Linked DNA regions of Homo sapiens: region 2 is linked to region 1. The links are contacts of gene promoters, found by promoter capture Hi-C in blood cells and fetal thymus (Javierre and others, 2016). All regions are on one chromosome and are shown on one strand. The core of a region is centred on a gene start or on the middle of the fragment in contact, and the rest is flanking DNA. Distances in the headings are between cores, read along the strand shown.

What was found. The method cuts DNA at HindIII sites, captures the fragments that hold promoters and counts their contacts. A CHiCAGO score of 5 or more calls a contact.
Region 2: a fragment that was not itself captured here is called in contact with the fragment with the promoter of PCDH10 in region 1 in 2 of 17 cell types (fetal thymus and M0 macrophages); the score reaches 8.8 in fetal thymus.

Annotation. Positions count from the first base shown.
Region 1 is chr4:133,145,661-133,151,358 of GRCh38, forward strand. PCDH10 (protocadherin 10) reads left to right here and starts at 3,634. Exons shown (of 5, transcript NM_032961.3): 1 at 3,634-5,698. The coding sequence starts at 4,481. It overlaps PCDH10-DT (PCDH10 divergent transcript), which reads right to left and starts at 3,456. Exons shown (of 9, transcript NR_125885.1): 1 at 3,369-3,456; 2 at 1,539-1,616; 3 at 1-85. RefSeq lists an enhancer at 3,378-3,437 and a silencer at 3,548-3,687. The HindIII fragment of the contact is 9,721 bases long and covers 1-5,698 here.
Region 2 is chr4:131,087,770-131,093,680 of GRCh38, forward strand. No RefSeq gene overlaps it. Among named protein-coding and RNA genes, the nearest start is that of LINC02377, 290 kb to the right of the region's middle. The HindIII fragment of the contact is 679 bases long and covers 3,744-4,422 here.

The DNA.
Region 1 (5,698 bases), core at 2,384-4,883:
CTGAGAATGACAAGTGCCAGGAACAACCATCTAGGTCAATCCTGGTGGAGCCTGGTTATTGATAAAGTAATTTTTCCTTCCAATTCTAAAAAAAAAAAAAAAAAAAACTTCCCTCAAAGCTCTGGGCACATAGCAATAATAAGAGGATTTAGAAACAAATTGCTTTCAAGTCATGTTAAATCACTGCAAACACTCATTTATCCAAAGGCTGGTTAACAAACTTGTTTCTGCCCCACCCTTTGCAGCAAAGGGCAGAGAAGAAAGCAATCCCTTAACCCAGTTTCAAAGTTTGTAAAACACACTTGTGGGATCCTTAGCGCCCCCCTGTTTCTGCTGCACTTAAAGCCCAATGAAATAAAAAATGTGCACTATCACTCTAATATATAAACCAGGACTTTTATGAAAACTGATTTTGATAACCTCCCTCCAAATAATAAAACTATTCCTCTGTTTCTTAGGGTGCAGTTTGTCCTGGCTCAAACAGTTTGCGCTCCTAGGGGGTGGACGGGGGAGGGTGAAGAAGGGATTACGTACAAAATATTTCCTTCTCCTTTTCCGCTCCAGTAACGGGGGGATTGAGGAACACAGAATATACATGATGCTCTACACTTCAAAGAGGTAGTCAGCCTCATTACTGAGGCTGCCGTATATACAAACCTCATCTCACTAAATTCTGGGGTCCACGGGAGTAAGAATGAAAAAGAAAAACGAAAGGCAGGGATCTGTTTGATTGACACAGCAAGGGAAAAAGTAAACCTGTTACATTTTAGAGGCATTTTAAAAGGCAAATTTAAAGTGTTGTTTTGTTTTGTGGGTGACGGGGCATGGTTGTTTTAAAGGCTCTAGGGTAAAGGGGCATAGAAGGCTATTAATGCCACTATCTGATCTTGGCTCCAAACAAAATGCTCTTGGAATTGCCCTTGGCTGGAGCTATCTAGCGGGAGGCGGAGGACCAGGCTCTGTTCTGTTCGGCCGGGAAGAAGACCCTACCGTCACTCCGCCGGTCCCTGGCTGGCGCCACAAAGACTAGAAGTCGGAGAGGCGAGACCTCTAGGGGGCCTGGGCTCAGCGACGCTGGTGCGGACACAGACCCCTATGACCCAAGAAATCTTGTAGAGCCCCCAAAAGGCGAGCTCTCCAAAGCAAAATTCTCTGGCCTGCCCTATGCTGATTTCGCCGCTAGGAGACGCCTGTAACCCACGTTTGCGGAGAGAGTTCCATTCAAACACATCTGCTACCAAAAATAAAAATAAAAAATAAAAAAAAATAAAAGCAGCTCAAGTGTTACAGTGGATGTAGTGATTATTTACAGGCAAATCTGGCCATCTCATCTCCACCTCTGGAAGCTCTCTGGCTTTCAGCATATGCCCCAAGTCAGCTCAAACTTCATCTACATTTCAGGGGTAGAAACCCTCTTCCCCAGTTTCTGGATCTGCATTGTCATTCAGCTGCATGTCTCCCACATGCAAACACGCGCGCACTCGCGCGCACACACACAAGTGTTTCCATACGTACAAATGAACGCATTAGAAAATTACCGTCATTTTTTAAAAGGCTCCAGGATTCTGACGAGTCAGCTTGAAGAGCTCAAAACATTTCATTTCAATTCTGCAGATCTGAAGAAAAAGAAAGGGGGGAGGGGTGGAAGTACAGATGCAATACCGTATTAATATTCAGATACACTATAATCTCCTTTTCATTGATCCACAGGTCCCTTTATACACTGCCGCTCCATTCTCAGCCGCAGACGTGATGCTAAAATCATTTTAACTGCAGCGGTTTTCGCTTGGCTTTGGCCAGTCTTCAATTTACTGCAGCTGGAAAAGGATTAGCCATTTTTGCTGGAATCCTTTCCTTCTAAGCGCTCAAAGGCAGGACCCATCTTCATGAAAGAGCCAAGTGCGGGGGCCGGGGGGACCCGGCGTTGCGGGGAGTTGGGGCGCGGAAATCAGGGCAGTAGACGTGCATTCGCGGGACTCTCAGAAGCACGTCTCAGGCTACTATCACGCCCATGGACACTAGCCCTCCTTAACTCCTTGCCAGGAGGAAATGGCAACGTATCTCCAGGTCGGAAAACGACTCTACTTTTCCCGCAGGTTGTGGTGGTGTATTCTTGGGTCATTCATTACCAGAAAGCAGCAAAGGACCTTCCTATCTCTTTGCATAAAAAGGAGATTGAATAGGGGCTTCTTTCGTGAATAAACAACCAATTCCTTGCTAGTGGCCCATTAATTAAAAATATATATTTATAGATCTTTCCTTAGAGAACTGGCATTCTATCCACTCTCCAGCATTAAAGAGTTCGCGCTGTGTTTTAACTTCACAAGAACTAGCTATGTGGATGTGCCGCGTTGCCCCTGCGCCTCCGGAAGGGGCACTCACAGCTGGTCAAGCGCGTCCTTCGGAACTCGGGGAGGCTCCGTTGGGGCTTACACAGAGCTAAGCCCTGGGCCAGGGAGGATGGATGCAAGTACCGTGCATGTGCAAACGTGTTCGCAGATACCCGCAGCGGTGCACACTCGGGCCCCTCGTGTGCACGGGCCCTGCCCACCACCCCGCCCGCGTTCGCCGCCGCCCCACTGTCCTCATCCCGCGGGCTGACCCCAGGATTGGCAGAAATCAGTGGTCTAATCTAGCATGGTGGGTAAAGGGATCGATCTCCAATTGCCAAAAAAAAAATAGAAAATAGCCGGTGTTCCCAGCCGCTGCGTGGCACTTGGCCGCACAAGGCGCAGGGATATCAGAGGCGCTTTGCAGCGCTTGGCGGTGCTGTGTGCCGGATGCCCCAGAGCCCGGCGTTAGGATGGCGGGCTTGTAGGAAGCGGCTCAAATCAACTCCTCAGTCACTGATGAACGCGCTCACGGCTCGAAGCTAGGTCCTCGAGTGAGTTAATCTACTTGGTAAGTATTTTGTGAATATGTATTTTGGGAGGAAAGAAGCACGTCGAACGCGTCTGCCCGTCTGTAAGCGCTGTCATCCCCACATCCTTTAGCGTGAATTCCTCCGCTTTTTAGGAGTCACCTCCACCCCCTACTCCGTATGCTTCGCGCCTTTCCTCACGGCCCCGTCAGACCCCCTCACCTTTAGATTGACACATGCCATATAATACTCACTTTTAAAATGCCCTGCCAGTCTCTGCTAGGGTCCCTTAATTAGGTAACCCTTGCCAATTAGTGGGCCCTGCGCTACTTTTTCCCTTCTCGATGATTTATTTCCATGATGCGTATTAGGGAAAATACCTTAAAGGAAAAAGAATGTTAGCATCATTGGAAATCCCGCTCCTAGGAGAGGATATCGCAGCTGTTGCTATTATGTTTTCGCATTTGCTGATGCAAACAGGGGAACCTCTCTATTCCCTCCCCATTACCTGCGGCTGGGGACTGGGAACTTTCCGCGGCATTGTCCCCAGCCAGCGCCTCGGGACCTGCGGGGCTGTTCTCGCTCTCACACTCACACTCACCCCGGCCGCTCGGGCGAGAGTTCTGTCCCGCCCCGCCCGGCTGCCGCGTGACGTGTCTGTTTGGCGGCCAGTTTGGCCAATCATCGGCAGCTCGGTGGGTGGTGCTCCTGGGCGATTGGTTGGCAGAATGAGGGCGCTGCGCAAAAACGGAGAAGCCGAGCGCTCGGAGCTCAGAAACTGCCAGCCCAGACCACAGGCTCAGAGGCTGAAGCAGGAGGAAGGAAGGACTGGAAGGAAAAAGAGACAGGTTAGAGGGAAAGAGGCTTGGGAAGAAAACAGCAGAAAAGAAACTGCTCATTACACTTACAGAGAGGCAAGTAACGGTGGAGATGAGGACAGAGGGAACCAAGACTCTGAAAGACAAAAAATACAAATAGAGCGAAAGAGGAAAAAAATGTCAAGAAGAACATCCATCCGGAGAAATGAAGAGAATGAAAGTTTTAAGCTGCAGAGCCGTTCTGTGCTTTTCCGGCACAAAATTATATCGCTGATTTTAAGCCCTTTTGCATTTGCCAGCCGTTGACATTAAGAGGCATGTTTAACGGTGCCAACAGCATCTCCTTTTCCTTCTCCTCTTCCTCTTCTTCTTCTTCCTCCTCCTCCTCCTCTTTTTCCTCCTCCTCGTTCTCCTCCCATCAGCAAGAAGACAAACCGAGGACAGTCTTGAAATATCGAAATTTCCTCTTTGGGATTTGCCAGCGCCAAGACTGTCGGAATAAAGGACGCTGACTATTGTATTATTGTTATTTTATTAATTAGTCAGTGGAAAGATTACAGATGAGGAAAGGGGACGCCTGTCACCCTTCCTGTGCTAAGATTTAAAAAAAAATGAGGCTGGATTGCGGGAAGCTCTAAAATGAAGCAAAAGGAGTAAGATTTTTAAAGACAGAAAGCCACAGGAGCCCCCACGTAGCGCACTTTTATTTGTATTTTTTCAGATTTTTTTTTGTTTCGTGGTGGTGGGGGAGGTGATTGGGTGGCTGACTGGCTGCGGGAAGCTACTTCCTTTCCTTTTGGAGATGATTGTGCTATTATTGTTTGCCTTGCTCTGGATGGTGGAAGGAGTCTTTTCCCAGCTTCACTACACGGTACAGGAGGAGCAGGAACATGGCACTTTCGTGGGGAATATCGCTGAAGATCTGGGTCTGGACATTACAAAACTTTCGGCTCGCGGGTTTCAGACGGTGCCCAACTCAAGGACCCCTTACTTAGACCTCAACCTGGAGACAGGGGTGCTGTACGTGAACGAGAAAATAGACCGCGAACAAATCTGCAAACAGAGCCCCTCCTGTGTCCTGCACCTGGAGGTCTTTCTGGAGAACCCCCTGGAGCTGTTCCAGGTGGAGATCGAGGTGCTGGACATTAATGACAACCCCCCCTCTTTCCCGGAGCCAGACCTGACGGTGGAAATCTCTGAGAGCGCCACGCCAGGCACTCGCTTCCCCTTGGAGAGCGCATTCGACCCAGACGTGGGCACCAACTCCTTGCGCGACTACGAGATCACCCCCAACAGCTACTTCTCCCTGGACGTGCAGACCCAGGGGGATGGCAACCGATTCGCTGAGCTGGTGCTGGAGAAGCCACTGGACCGAGAGCAGCAAGCGGTGCACCGCTACGTGCTGACCGCGGTGGACGGAGGAGGTGGGGGAGGAGTAGGAGAAGGAGGGGGAGGTGGCGGGGGAGCAGGCCTGCCCCCCCAGCAGCAGCGCACCGGCACGGCCCTACTCACCATCCGAGTGCTGGACTCCAATGACAATGTGCCCGCTTTCGACCAACCCGTCTACACTGTGTCCCTACCAGAGAACTCTCCCCCAGGCACTCTCGTGATCCAGCTCAACGCCACCGACCCGGACGAGGGCCAGAACGGTGAGGTCGTGTACTCCTTCAGCAGCCACATTTCGCCCCGGGCGCGGGAGCTTTTCGGACTCTCGCCGCGCACTGGCAGACTGGAGGTAAGCGGCGAGTTGGACTATGAAGAGAGCCCAGTGTACCAAGTGTACGTGCAAGCCAAGGACCTGGGCCCCAACGCCGTGCCTGCGCACTGCAAGGTGCTAGTGCGAGTACTGGATGCTAATGACAACGCGCCAGAGATCAGCTTCAGCACCGTGAAGGAAGCGGTGAGTGAGGGCGCGGCGCCCGGCACTGTGGTGGCCCTTTTCAGCGTGACTGACCGCGACTCAGAGGAGAATGGGCAGGTGCAGTGCGAGCTACTGGGAGACGTGCCTTTCCGCCTCAAG
Region 2 (5,911 bases), core at 2,833-5,332, 2.1 Mb before region 1:
GAAATTTCTCAATCAGTTCTAAATTCATAACCATATCATCTCTTAAAAACAAATAAAAAAGTTTATGTCTTACTCAGGCCATCCCCTCCAGAACAAACTCAATAAAAAATTAACCTAGCTGTTCCCATAGTTTGCAGGTACAACTGGGACAATAAAACATAAACCTCAAGGACTTGGTGTTTTTAAAGGTGCTTCCAACTTCACTGGCATCTGTCACTTTTTTTTCAATAGAAGTTGGTGATGGATCAAATAAAAACAACAGAAACTATACTGTATCTAAAAATTTCTACTTTATTTCTTTTTGAAATGAAAACTGTAGAGCTTCACATCACACTCTTCTTGAGAATATAAACAGTTTAGCAGTGCAATTGAAAGTGCTTTTTATAATTATAAATCCAATCATTGACACTTTACTCCAAATCATTTGTCTCCTTTCCCCAAGGAAAGAAGACAATCCTTTTCCCCAAATTCTTATTTAAGTATCAACATACCTAAAAACATACCTATTTCCCCAATCCATCCCCCACATTCTTATTTAAGTATCAGCATACCTAAAAAGCCCCAGATACCTTCAATAACTGTAATTATTATCCTTAGCTTACACATGCAAAATAAATAAAAAAACCCATACTTCAAAACCACCTGTTGTTTTGAATACAGGATAAATACATACAATTTTATCTGCCAATTAAGAATAGAATAAAATAATTAAACCTGAAAAAAAAAACAAAAAAAGAATCTCAGCTTACATAAATGGGCCTCAGAATGCCAAGGAGATGAAAACTGTTCTTCGGTTCATAATGTTAGTAATGCTGATTTGTAAATATGATAAACACACATTTCCTGTAACCTAGCTATTCAGAACCTGGTGTATTCCTATATTCTGGCTACTGGTTTTCTTGATGCAGTCTTACAGGGGCAAAGCCATCACTCACAAGGGTAGAAATTAGAGGACATGGATAGCTGTATATTTTCAAGTCTATAGGATATCAGGATTTTGACTCTAAGGTTATAATTATAGATTATGTCATAGGAAAACTTTATTAACTCCTTTAGATAACAACTTCAGAAGGCAAATAGCAAATGTGAATCATTCTTGCTCCTTTCAATAATCTAACATATATTTATTGTATTTTATCAAAGCCATAACCAACAATATATCTAATATCATTAGAACTTATCAGGACCTTCTCTAACAACTCTTGAAGTCAGAAAGTAGAAAATGGAAAAAGTCTAGTCTTTGTTGTCAAATTCCAGTTACCATTTAGCAGCTATGTTTTAATGGACATAGTAAGAATAATTTCTTTAAGCTTCATGTCTTTTTTTCCACACAAAGTAAAGATAGTAGTAATTACTCAATGAAATCATTTTAATATACCAAATTAGCACATAAAAATTGACATAGAGTAAGTATGCAACAAATGATAACTCTTCCTATGTTCTACATTTATACTATGTGGTTCTAAGGTTTGACTCAAAATTTTGATTTCTCAAGATTTAGATGGTTTCCTCCAAGCAAACTATAACATACAAAGATTTGGTGAGTGTGTCCATGATACTCTTATTTTTATAATTTAATACCTGATATACATAAATCTTCTTCACCTTAGTATCCATATTTCCAGTGTGGAACATCATAGAATGTTTAGTCTGACATCCTTCTACTCTGGTGTCAGCATCTCGAAATGACACTCTGGTTTTGTTGTTGTTGTTGTTGTTGTTGTTTTGTTATTTTATTTTTAGGCCACAAAAAAACCCAAAAATAAAATAAATGGGCTCCTAGATTCCAAATTAAATTATTACATGCTTTATGCAGAATACTTAAAGAGATCTTTAAAACCAGTTTGCAATTCTTAATCCATCGACAATTTGATGGTGCAAGAGTTTAGATTATTGGAAGCTGGAGCGTTTCTTTGAAGAGAGTGTGCTATTTTTAAAAACATTCTTCCATCTCAGGTTGGAGAGGGTTGCTGAGTAGTGACTCTTCATTTTAGGTTTTGAAGATATTGTATGTGTCCTGGATCATATGTGAAACTATGAGCTAGTGGCTAACTCTCCTGAAAAAAAGTGAAAAAGTAAAGGGTGAGATGCTTATGGAATGAGCCTGTTGCAACAGGATAGATGGTTACATTTGCAAATTACCTGCTCTACCTTGGATAGGAGGTCAATGTTATGTGATTATCCAGAACTGGTTGAAGTACCTGATGCTTATCTGCAATGCCAATATCAGCCTATAGTTGCTTTAAAAGGGACAACTGTGATCTGGATGGTATCAATGGTATCAGAGGGTGATGGTACCCACACCCAAAAAGGCTTGAGTACATCAATAACTAAAGAATTTGAGGGGCAATATTAAGAAGCCAGTTCAAGAAGAAACACTACTTAAGCCAAAAGACACACTTGCTACACTCCCATAATTGCAAGAAGCACCCAAGAAAACCTGAGAGATAAAATGAGCTTTAATTAGAATTATCCAGAGTAAAACAACACTGAATTACCTATGTGCTAGTCAAGTAAGAGTTTCCCTGCCCTACTCCTTCCTTACTCCAACCTTGCCCCCAAAAAGGCAGTATAGTGAATGGGGAAGAAAGGATAAAAACATAAGAATAGCAAACTTAAAAAGTACCAAAATTTCCTTTTATCCAGAGTTGGTCAGCCTTTGGTAGGGAAAAGTTGAGAAGGGATTTTACTTTTTCCAACTTTGAAAAAACTTTAGGATTTTTGTGTATCCTGCTTAGACAAGTCCTGTAGCACTTGAGCTCTCCCTCTCTAGCCACTGTCACCAGTTGGCGATGAACAACATCTATCTGTCTAGTATTGGAGGCTTGTCTGCTGCTATAGCAATGTCTTTGTTACATAGGAGTGCAAAGTCATAGCTCTTTTAATTCACTTTGCATACGTAAACACGACTGAATGGAATATGAACTTTAAGTTAGAGTGGCAGAGTCCAGAAAGGTTTCCAGTCTAGCTGCTCCATCACAAACACATAGCTCCTTTGGGTGTGTTGACGTTAATTTACCAACCCATTTCCCTCTTTCCATGACTTCTGTTTTCAAATTTTGATTAGTGTAAACTTGTCCCAATCAGATAGGTAATGATGATAATTTCCTCAAAGGATATCTAAGAATTCTCATTAACAACCCATAGCCTCACACTAAGATCTTAAAATAAGGATCCAAGACCGAGAAAGCCTTCAAACCCCAATGTTCTGTCAAGCACTTTTCCTAGTCAATGGGAATTGTATTTTCCCATTAGGAAGGGCAAATAACCTGCTCTTCCTCACTTATGAGAGTAGAAGTAGGGGGTATATTTATGTACATTTTCTTCATTTAGCATCCTGTTACTAAAAACCACTAAATATTTCAATAGAAAAAGAGGAGAACATTTTTTTCAGAAGGACTTCTAACATATGTATATAGCCTGCATTCAAAGTGGTTAACCAGCGGGCGCGGTGGCTCACGCCTGTAATCCCAGCACTTTGGGAGGCCAAGACAGGCAGATCACCTGAGGTCAGGAGTTCAAGACCATCCTGGTCAATATGGTGAAACCCCGTCTCTACTAAAAATACAAAAATTAACCGGGCGTGGTGGCACACACCTGTAATCACAGCTACTTGCGAGGCTGAGGAAGGAGAATTGCTGGAACCCAGGAGGTGGAGGTTGCAGTAAGCTGAGATTGGGCCACTGCACTCCAGCCTGGGTGACAGAGCCAGACTTCGTCTCGAAAAAAGAAAAAAAAAAGGAAGCTTAACCATTTAAATTCTAACTGTCCAAATACAGTTCTCTCTTGCTCTCTTTAGGAAGCCTCTGCTTCAGCAGACATTAAATACAGGTGCTTTTCACCTTATTGTAAAACATCGTGAACAGTAAACATGCTTTTGTGTCTATATTATTTTATCATACATTCTTTTTAATTATCCTTCTCCAAATAGCCATTTTGCTGAGTCTTGTTTACCTTTTTAAAACGATGTTTTACATTCCTAATAATGCATGCTAATCCCATTAAATTCAATGTAGTAAATACGGCATAACGATATTGTGATGCATAAGCCCAGTTACAGTTAAGACATTAACTCTTGCAGATTGCTTGCTTGTAGTGCTTTAAAATATCTGCAACATTCAGCAAATTTGCTAGTACAATATAATTTGTTAATAAGCCTTCCATATTGAAAGAAAAAATAGGGTATTATAATTTTGAATATCACCCATTTACCATACAAAGGATTTTTTAAAAACACCTACTTTCCAAATACAGATTATTTTTATTTAAAAATGTGTTTTCTTGCACCATATACTTAATAACTATTAAAAGACATTTGCATTGTCAATAGATGGCAGCATAGCTCTTTAAGAGTTCATGGGGAACTACTTAACAGTTTAAGATCATAGCCATTAGCCATGCTAAAAATGGTAATCTTAATAAAGCTTTCTCATTGAACTTTTCTTAATACTTCATTGCATTGATGCCACATATTTCCAAAAAGAAAACTGAAAAGAATATGTAAACTGTAAATATTTTATGGTTCAGTTTTAGTTTTTTTTTTTTATTTAAGGTTATATAATTTTGGTGTTGGGGGCTGTCAGGTGAAGGAAAACACTGTTGACACATTAATGTATGAATCTTTCACTTTACTATTAGACTTTGAAGTATTAATTTGACATATAATATGTGAAGTTTTAATAATTTATCAATAATGTCTCAATTTAAAGAACACTTTTAACCAACATTTTAATAAATTGTTATAAAGAAAAAAATATTTGACCATCAATCTCTCTTTTCTAGAAATATAAAGATTTAATTCATGAGAGTAGAATCTCTTTAAACACTTTAGTGAATCTGCCTTCGGGGAAGATCCTAAAGAAAGCAAGACATACTTTCAAATCTCTTCCATAAAATCACACATGGATCAGATAACTCTTTGGGAAAAATAGTGTTCTTTCTGGACTATTTGAATTCTATTTAGATGGTCTGAGATGCCTCTAAAGTTGAAGTTGGTAGAGCTACAATATTCCTACAGAAATAAATGCTGGCCATAAAGATATAATGTGCTGACAGACATAAAAAGAGAAATCCAGGAGGCACAGTAATTTGTCTTAATTGACAAAGGTTTCTGCCCAGGAGCTATCACTATAAAATATAAAAGAGCATCAATCACATAGTGCAAATAAGCAGGTTATAGCCTTACGGTTAGTTTTAATAATTCTGAGCAATTCAAATTATAGCATTGCTTTATTAATATTACTAAAGTAATCTTTGTCAGTATTAAAGACTCCTGAAATTTTTCTAATTTTTTGTTTTCTTACACTTTCTTATTCTTCAAACAGAGAAAAACCCAAATTTATGAGCTCTGTTCTGTTTCACTAAGTCTGTGACAGAGATTTTCCTACAGCATGTATTCACATCTGTATGTAATGTGTGCAAGGGGGAAAAACACTTTTTTCTTCAAAAATCCCTCCTTAACAACTGTTTTCAAATAACGACCACTGTGTTTAGTAGGTTATTCTAAGTAGATGATTTTATCTATTCATTTATAGGTTATTAATATGTTTATTTTATATCTATTTGAGTGAACATTTACTATGTTTTAGGTGCAGTGGTATCCATGGTATTTCATAGGTAGGGTAGAAGTCTCTTCCTTTTCTTCACACTCAGTAGTAAAGAGAGGCACATGAACAGGTGTTGCTATCCCCATGGAAACACAGACACAAGATATAGGAGTCACTCTTCTGACTCACCTTTACATAATCTTCTTCCAAGAACATCAAAGATCTATATTTCCTTTGTAGAACAGATTGACCGATGCCCAAGGCATATTGTATGTGCTACACTCGAGTTTATACTCCTACCAGTTTACTTGCATGTTTGCTAAGAATCAGTTGTGTTTGTTCCAAAGCCTATTTATGACAGTCAA